Regions from separate parts of the Homo sapiens genome. Here regions 1 and 3 are each linked to region 2. The links are contacts of gene promoters, found by promoter capture Hi-C in human tissues and cell types (Jung and others, 2019). All regions are on one chromosome and are shown on one strand. Each heading gives the region's core, a stretch centred on a gene start or on the middle of the fragment in contact. The rest is flanking DNA. Distances are from core to core; before and after follow the strand shown.

What was found. Contacts are between HindIII fragments. The study calls those that stand out against the background at their distance.
Region 1: a fragment that was not itself captured here is called in contact with the fragment with the promoter of COL6A2 in region 2 in 1 of the 25 tissues and cell types used here (lymphoblastoid cells).
Region 3: a contact is called between a fragment that was not itself captured here and the fragment with the promoter of COL6A2 in region 2, in 1 of the 25 tissues and cell types used here (lymphoblastoid cells).

The regions. Positions count from the first base shown.
Region 1 is chr21:46,638,358-46,641,057 of GRCh38, forward strand. All of the region lies in intron 3 of PRMT2 (protein arginine methyltransferase 2), which reads left to right. Among named protein-coding and RNA genes, the nearest start is that of PRMT2, 4.0 kb to the left of the region's middle. The HindIII fragment of the contact is 4,299 bases long and covers 1-2,700 here.
Region 2 is chr21:46,096,641-46,099,430 of GRCh38, forward strand. COL6A2 (collagen type VI alpha 2 chain) reads left to right here and starts at 1,472. Exons shown (of 28, transcript NM_001849.4): 1 at 1,472-1,533. COL6A2-DT (COL6A2 divergent transcript) reads right to left here and starts at 1,005. Exons shown (of 2, transcript NR_186433.1): 1 at 832-1,005. RefSeq lists an enhancer at 1,295-1,589. The HindIII fragment of the contact is 26,496 bases long and covers 1-2,790 here.
Region 3 is chr21:46,622,527-46,625,430 of GRCh38, forward strand. No RefSeq gene overlaps it. Among named protein-coding and RNA genes, the nearest start is that of PRMT2, 12 kb to the right of the region's middle. RefSeq lists an enhancer at 1,861-2,361. The HindIII fragment of the contact is 7,233 bases long and covers 1-2,904 here.

The DNA of each region.
Region 1 (2,700 bases), core at 201-2,700, 540 kb after region 2:
CACTGCTACACAGTAGGCATATACCCCATTTTACTTATTCCCTTTTTGTTGGACACTTAAATTGTTTCTAGTTTTTTCTATTTCAAACAATGCTGTAGTGACCATCCGTCTCCATGCCTCTGTGCTCCAGTAATGGCATTGCAGGGTGCAAGGGATTGCAAGTTTCAGTTTTACTGGATAATGATCAGTTGTTCCCCACAATGACTTTACGAGTTCACAGGTCTGTCAGTAGCCCACAATAGTGCTTACTAACACTTGACAGTATCAGACTTTTAAGTTTTGGTCAGTCTCATGGGTTAGAAATGGTATTTTGTTATTTCAATTTTGCTGACTGGTCATGGTAGTATTTCAGTAATACTTGTGTTCATCCTGTTAATACCACCCTCCATTATAGAAGAGATGTCTTATAATGGTAATTTGTGTTTTATCTCTTTTTTTCACACTTGATCAATCTTTTCTTAGGGTTTTATCAATTTTATTTTTATAAAGAACCAATTTTATCTGTGTTGATTTCTCTGTTTTTCTATTTCATTGATTTCTGCTTTTGTCTTTATTTCATTCTGTTGTATTTGGGTTAATTTTTATAACATCTGAGAGGGAAGCTTAGATAATTGATTTTAAACCTTTCTTTAATAGTCTTTAAAGCTATGACTTTCCTCTAATCACTGCTGTAGCTGTACCTCACATATTTAAATGCATTTTCATTCTTCAAAATATTTTCTAATATATTCAATGGAAATTAGAAGTTTTCTGGGCTATTTGAAAGTATGTTGACCAATTTCTAAACATATTGGAAATTTTACTTTTTCTTATTTAATTTTGCTTTGATTACATTGGTTAGAGAACATAACATCCTCTATAATTTCAGTCTTTTGAAATTTATTCAGGCTTGCTTTATGTTCTAATCATATGGAATATGTTGGTGAGTGTTCCATGAGTACTTGCAAAGACTATGTATTCTGCAGTTGTTGAGTGTAGCATTCTATAAATGTCATGAAGATCAAATGTGTTATTAGTATTGTTGAAATCTCTATATCTTTTCTGATTTTTTTTGCCATCTTCTATCAGTTACTAAAAATTCTCCACTATGATTGTAGATATATCTATTTTTCCTTTTGGTTCTATCACTTTTTGCTTTGTATATTTTGAGTCCCTGTTATTGGGTGTATATATTTAGTATAGGTTTTGTTTTCTAGATTAATTGACCTTATTTTTTATAAAACATCTGTCTTTTTACCTGTTAATAAATACTTCTTTTCTTGCGTGTACCTTTTTTTTAATGCTAATATAGCTGTACCAGCTTTTTTTTTTTATCATTAGTGCTTACATAAAGTGTGTGTGTGTGTGTGTTTGTGTGTGTGTGTGTGTGTATTTTTTTTCCCTCAACTTAAGTCCTTATATTTAAAGCGTTTTTCTCGTAAAGAGCTAGTTGGGTCTAGCTCTTAGGTCTGTTTTTTTGTTTCTCTGTTAAACACAATTTCTGCCTCTTAATTGGAGTATTTAGTCTATTAACACTTCATGTTATGACGAATGTGATGAAGTGTAACATTTTGCTGTTTGTTTTATGTTTGTCACATTTCTTTTTCCTGCATGTCTCCATTCCTGCCCTCTTGTGGATAAATAAAGGATTTTCTATAATTCCATATTACCTCCTTTAATAGCTTGTTAGCTGTATCTTTTTATATTGTTTTAGTGTTTTCCCAAGAAATTGCAGTATGCATCCTAATTCAATTTCAGTCTTTTTTTTAACTACTTCATAAGGTAAAGATCTTAGAAGTTAGTTTCATTTACCAGCGTCCATATTTTTGTACTGTTGATGTAACATTTTAATTTTACATATGTTGTAAACGCCACAATAAATTATCATTATTGCTTTACGCTATCGAGTCTTTTTTTATGAAGTAAAATAAATAGTCTTTTTTATGTTTCCCCACATATTATTTGCCTTTTTTGAGGTCTTTCCCTTTTTCTTGCATTCTGTGTTTTCATGTAGGATCATTTCCCTTCAACCTGACAACTTTATGTTTATATTTACTAGTGTGAGTCTGCTGTGTCAAACTATGAAATGTGTTTTGCCTACATTTTTTTTTTTTTTTTTTTTTGAGACGGAGTCTCGCTCTGTCGCCCAGGCTGGAGTGCAGTGATGCGATCTCGGCTCACTGCAAGCTCCGCCTCCTGGGTTCACACCATTCTCCTGCCTCAGCCTCCCGAGTAGCTGGGACTACAGGTGACCACCACCACGCCCGGCTAATTTTTTGTATTTTTAGTAGAGACGGGGTTTCACCATCTTGGCCAGGCTGGTCTCAAACTTCTGATCTCAGGTGATCTGCCCACCTTGGCCTTGATGGTTTTTTTTTTTTAATTTTGGAAAAATCTCCACCATTATCTCTTCATTTATTTTTTTCTGCCTCATCTTCTGTCTTCTTTTTTGGGGTCTCCATGTAAACATAAGTTAGAATTTTTGCTGCTGTTTGACATGTCTCATGCTCTATTCTTATTTTTTTTTTCATTTTGTGCTTCAGTTTGGAAAATTTCTGTTGACCTGACTCTTGAGGCGCTGATCATAAACAAGATAACTGGGAAAACAATATGTTTGTAAAACAATTTCTTGAGATGTGAAATAGTATCTATATTGTACCAAGAGTAGTCCCAGCTACTTGAGAGGCTGAGGTAGGAGGATTGCTTTAGCTTGGGAGGTGG
Region 2 (2,790 bases), core at 222-2,721:
ACGGAAGCCTCAGACCACAGGTGAGACCCCTGTGAAGGAGATACGGGGAGCCTTGGCCAGCACGTGCCCCTAGACAGTGCTGGCCAGGCCGAGGGAGAACTTCTGGAGCCAAGGTAACCCCTAAAGGATTCTGGTCTTGTGAGGAGGGGCCTGGCTTCCCCCTGGGAGCTGCTGGCTTGGAAGCAGGAGGCATTGCCCAGGTGAGAGTTCGGCATGGACCCAGGGGAGTGGCACACGGTGCCCGCCGTCAGCTGTGCTCAGGAGCAGCAGGCAGGAGCCCTGGACTCATGGCTACCATGTGGCTGCCACACTCAGGCACACTTAGGCACATACACTCACACTCAGGCACACTTAGACACACACATTCACACTCAACCTCAGACGCAGACACACACCACACACTCACAGATGCACACAGTCTCAGACACAGACACACACCACACACAGATACACACACCACAGACTCAAACTCAGTCTCAGACACAGACACACACCACACACTCAGATGCACACACCACACACACTCAGTCTCAGACACACACACACACCACATTTGCAAACCTGCTCATCAGAAGAGGGACCTCGCCCCCAGCCGCTCCGCCACCTTCCAGGACAGCTCTGAAGGGAGCCCTGTCCCGGAGCCCAGGGACCTCTCCCCAACCCGGCTGCGCCTCACCTCAAGGAGGAACCCCGGCCCTGGCTGGGGGACTGTGACCAGGGTGGGGAGTGGGGACCCCAGACAGAGCCCTACCAGGGACCCCTGTCACTCTGTCCCCGGCTGGGCTCAGGTGGGGACCTCACGGTGGTCCCAGGGCCCAGCACCAAGCCCACCTGTGGTTTCCAGCGGGAAAGGGGTGGCAGGGGTGGCTCGCCGCATGCCCAGGCTCTGCCCCAACCTCCGCGCCCAGGCTCTGCTGTCCCTGCCCTCCCGGCTCCCCACCCTCAGGCCCCAGGAGCGGCAGTTTCTGCAGGAGCTCCTGACCCGGGGCCTCTCGCGGGAGGCCTGAGCAAGCCGGACACAGGACACGGGGTAGGGGAGGGGTCGGGGGGCTGATGGGGGGAACCCTGCACCCCCCAGGGCAGCTGCTACCAAGGGGCGAGTCCCAGGGCCCCCGTCGGCCCTGCGTGCGGGGCGCGGTCCCCAACACCCAGGGCCCCGGAGGCGGACACAGCCCCAGCCAGGTCGTCCGGGAAATGGGGCGGGGGCGACGGGCGGCCGGGCCCGGGACGCGAAGTCCGAGCAGCAGCGGGCAGGGGCTGGCGGGGGAGCTCGGCCCGGGCTGCAGGGGGGTCCCCACCCTCTCCACCTCCTCCAGCCTCCCGCCCTCGAGGGTCCCCGCTTCCCTCCCATCCCCCTCCCGTGCCCCCGGCCCCCTCCTCCCATCCGCGGGGCCGCAGCGCTTCCTGGCGGCGGGGCGGGTCAGGCCGGCGGGGCGGGGTATAAAGGGGGCGGCGCCGGCCGCGGTTCCCTCCCTGCTGCTTACTCGGCGCCCGCGCCTCGGGCCGTCGGGAGCGGAGCCTCCTCGGGACCAGGTGAGCGCCTCCCGGACCCCGCACCCTGGAAGCCGCTCGGCCCGCGGGGGGTGACCCCGAGTCCTGGGAAGGCGGCGGCGGCGGCTCCGTCCCTCGGGTCCCCGGGAAGGGGGACTCCAGCCCCAGGGACGGCGGGGGGCTCGGCGGGTTCGGGGCTCCTCCTCGCGGGGCTGGGGCCGCGCCTGCCCCTGTGGCTCCGCGTCTCTGGGTCCGACCCTCGGGCGCGCGACTTGGGGCCACCTCCCCGCGGCCTCCTCTGGGGCGGAGCCGGCCTGGGCGGGGTGGGGGGGTCCCTGTCTGCGCCCGAGCTCGGTGCTGGGACCCCCGCTCCCGAGACGACCCCGGCACCGCACGCCCCGCCAGGCCCCGCGTCTGCGAGCGGTTCGGGTCCGGCTCCGGCCCGCGGGGAAGACGCCCCGGCTGGCTGGGACCTCCGGGGGCGCAGGGCCTCTCCCCGGGCCGGACGGAAGGGGCGGCGGGGCGGGGGGAGGAGGGGCTTTCGGTGCCCGAGGGCGGGACTGGGCGGGGAGGGGACGCGGGTGGCCCCGACGCCCCATCGCTGCGCCCCTCCCGGCCTGGAGCCCACCAGGGCCCCGCCAGGCCCAGGAGAAGCTGCAGACGGAGGCGGCTCCCCAGGGCGGCGGGACCCGGGCTGACAGCGACCCGCAGCCCCTGCCGGGCCGCCCACACCCGCCCTGGGACTCCGCCGGGGCGCTGGTGGAACCGCTGGGCCTGGGTCTCCACTGCTGGCAACCGAACGGATCGGCCCTCTGTGGAGCCGCAGGTGTGCGGGCGAGCGGCGCCCATCCGGGCTGTGCCAGCAGAACCCCGGTGCCCGCGCCTAGGACGCCCCTGGAGAAGGGACCTTCCCTTTGGGGTCGGAACCCAGAAAGGAGGGGCCTGCGATCCGCGGAGCTCCTTGTTCTTGGGATAACACAGCTCTGGCTTGGAGGCCCCCTTGCACTTCGACTCTGGTGATTATTTCAAGAAAGGCCAGACCGGGCACGGTGGCTCACGCCTGTAATCCCAACACTTGGGGAGGCCGAGGCGGGCAGATCACCTGAGGTCAGGAGTTCGAGACCAGCCTGGCCAACAGGGTGAAACCCCGTCTCTACTAAAAATACAAAAAAAAATTAGCCGGGCGTGGTGGCAGGCACCTGTAATCCCAGCTAATCGGGAGGCTGAGGCAGGAGAAAATCACTTGAACCTGGGAGGCGGAGGCTGCAGTGAGCTGAGATCGCGCCACTGCACTCCAGC
Region 3 (2,904 bases), core at 1-2,500, 530 kb after region 2:
TCTTGCTCAGGAACTGAGTCTTGGTGAAATATAAGAGGAAGTGTTTGAACTGATGCTGGGGCAAGATCTCAAAAGGAAAACTGAGTTTTCCCTTTTGTAGAACTCTGTCACAGATATTTATTTTGATTATGCTTTTTATAACTTTTAAGGATTCTTGGAAATTTGCAATAAAATCATGTCAGGTTTAAATGTTTAAAAAATCATAGGATTAGCCTATTTGTTTTTTCACTCAACAGGAGTGTTTTTCATTTGACGACTTCAGAAGATCCCACGTCTTACAGCCCGTCCCTTCCTGTAGGACGCTGTGGGCCAGGACAGCACAGTACTCGGCCACATGCCCAAATGAGCAGCCACAAAAGTCTAATCAATCGATTGTTCAAACTGCTTAACTCACATCTGTAATCCCAGCACTTTGGAAGGCTGAGGCGGGCGGATCACTTGAGGTCAGGAGTTTGAGACCAGCCTGGGCAACATTGTGAAACCCTGTCTCTACTAAAAATACAAAAATTAGCCAGGTGTGGTGGCGCATGCTTGTAGTCCCAGCTACTTGGGAGGCTGAGGCAGGAGGATCCCTTGAACTCGGGATATGGAGGTTGCAGTGAGCAGAGATCCTGCTACTGCACTCCAGCCTGGGTCACAGAGATTCTGTCTCAAAAAAACAAAGAAAAACAAACAAACAAACTCTACTTAACAAGTGAGGATGCTCACGCCTTGACTGTAAAAATGCCTGCGTGGAATTGAACCACCTCGACAGCAACGACCCAGGAGGTGGAAATGAGTTGTTTTATTTTAGAGATTTAAATAAAGAACATACCAAACGTATGAGAGAAGAGGAAAGCTGAGAACCTAAAATCTGGACGCTCGGTTGGGCACAGTGGCTCACGCCTGTAATCCTAGCACTTTGGGAGGCCGAGGTGGGCAGATCACCTGAGGTTAGGAGTTCAAGACCAGCCTGGCCAACACGGTAAAACCCCATCTCTACTAAAAATACAAAAAAAATTAGCCAGGTGCCTGTAATCCCAGCTGCTGGAGAGGCTAAGGCAGGAGAATTGCTTGAACCCAGGAGGCAGAGGTTGCAGTGAGCTGAGACTGCACCATTGCACTCCAGCCTGGGCAACAAGAATGAAACTCCGTCTAAATATATAAATATAATTTTAAAAAATCTGGAAGCTCAATCCCTAGCAGTTTTGCTACTGCAGAACAATAACCTCTTTTGCTTTTGAAAAACAAACTTCAAGTTAAAAACACTGTGAATAACCTGGCACTATATTTCAATTTTTAGTGTAACTGGAATACATCCACAGGTATATTTAGCATCTAGTAGTTCTATTGAGTGCTAATGTAAATAAAATTTAAATCATAGGAGGAATAAACTATTTTTGGAATTAAAACTTAAGACAGACTCCATAATAAAATCAAATAATTTGATGTAATTCCTGTAACATATGTACTAACATTAAGTTCAACATTTAAAATTAATTATCTGTTATTGTGTATTAATTTAGAAAATTAATTGCAATCTTCTGAACTCTGCCTTTGGGGCTCCCTGGAACGAGGCCCAGGGGCCGTGTTTGCCTGAGTCGCATGCATGCACCTCCCTTCCCCAGGCGAGGCCCACTTGGCTGCGCGCCTCCCCACAGCGGGGACCATGAGATGCAGAGGCAGACAAGGACAGCGTCTTGGTGATCACAACTTTTAAAACGAAAAACTCAGATGCCCAGGATGAGAGAGCGCACACCCCGTGCTGATGCCCCACCCTGAACTTGCTGCTGCTGTGATGATGGCCACAGAAGGACAGCTGTTCACGGAGCCCTGGCCGAGCTCGCTCTGTCCTCAGCCTGTGCGGCTGGCCAGGTCCCTTGGCCGTAGGAAGGCTCCAGAGGCCTCTTTGGGTAGGAGAGTGTGGGGGATGGGTCAGTTGCTCAGCACACCAAGGAGCCAGGCCTCACAGGGACTCTTTTAGGGTCCCTAGATTTTGCAACTCAAGTGACAACCACTCCTGCCCCTGGAGTGTTGATTTGTGTGCTCCAATGCCCCCCAACATGTTGGCCGTCAGGTGCCCTGCCAGGCCCTGCGTGTTCAGTGTGCTCTGGTTCCTGGGAGGAAGGTAAGACACTGAGTTCTGAACTCTGGAGGTGGAAGGGGGCTCCTTGGACAGTCACCTGATTAAGCACAGCCCTGACCCCATCCTGGTCACAGGGGTGTGAGTCTCCAAGGACAGGGCTCCAGAGCACCGTGTGATAAGTCACATGCAAAGGAAACCTGGGCAATGGCATAAATGAGGACCTCCCCTTAGCAGGGAAAGGAGCTTAGCAGCCTTCGGAGCCTCAGCCTGCATAGGAAACGCATGTTTCTCCATCATGATGGGGGAAACTGAGGCTCAGGTTGTATCACTCAGTGTCAAAGCCAGGATTTGAACCTGGGCCTGCCTCCAGAGTCCAAGTCCCAACCACATGAAATGCTGCTGTCGTGGATCGGAGCAGGAGGAAATGCCCTGCTCTGACTCAAGGAGGTGCTTGGACTCTGCTTGTTTTTGTTTTTGAAACAGAGTCTTGCTCTATTGTCCAGACTGGAGTGCAGTGGTGCAATCTCAGCTCACTGCAGCCTCCTTCTCTAGGGTTCAAGTGATTCTTGTAACTCATCTCCTGAGTAGCTGGGATTACAGACATGCACCGCCACGCCTGGCTAATTTTTGTAATTTTAGTAGAGATGGGGTTTCACCATGTTGGCCAGGCTGCTCGAACTCCTGGCCTCAAGCGATCCACTTGCCTTAGCCTTCCAAAATGTTGGGATTACAGGCATGAGCCACCATGCCCAGCCAGACTCCACTTCCTGATGAAATGGCAAGAGAAGAGCATGTGGGGAGGATTGCAGACCTTGCTATGACCAACTTTGGAAAACACA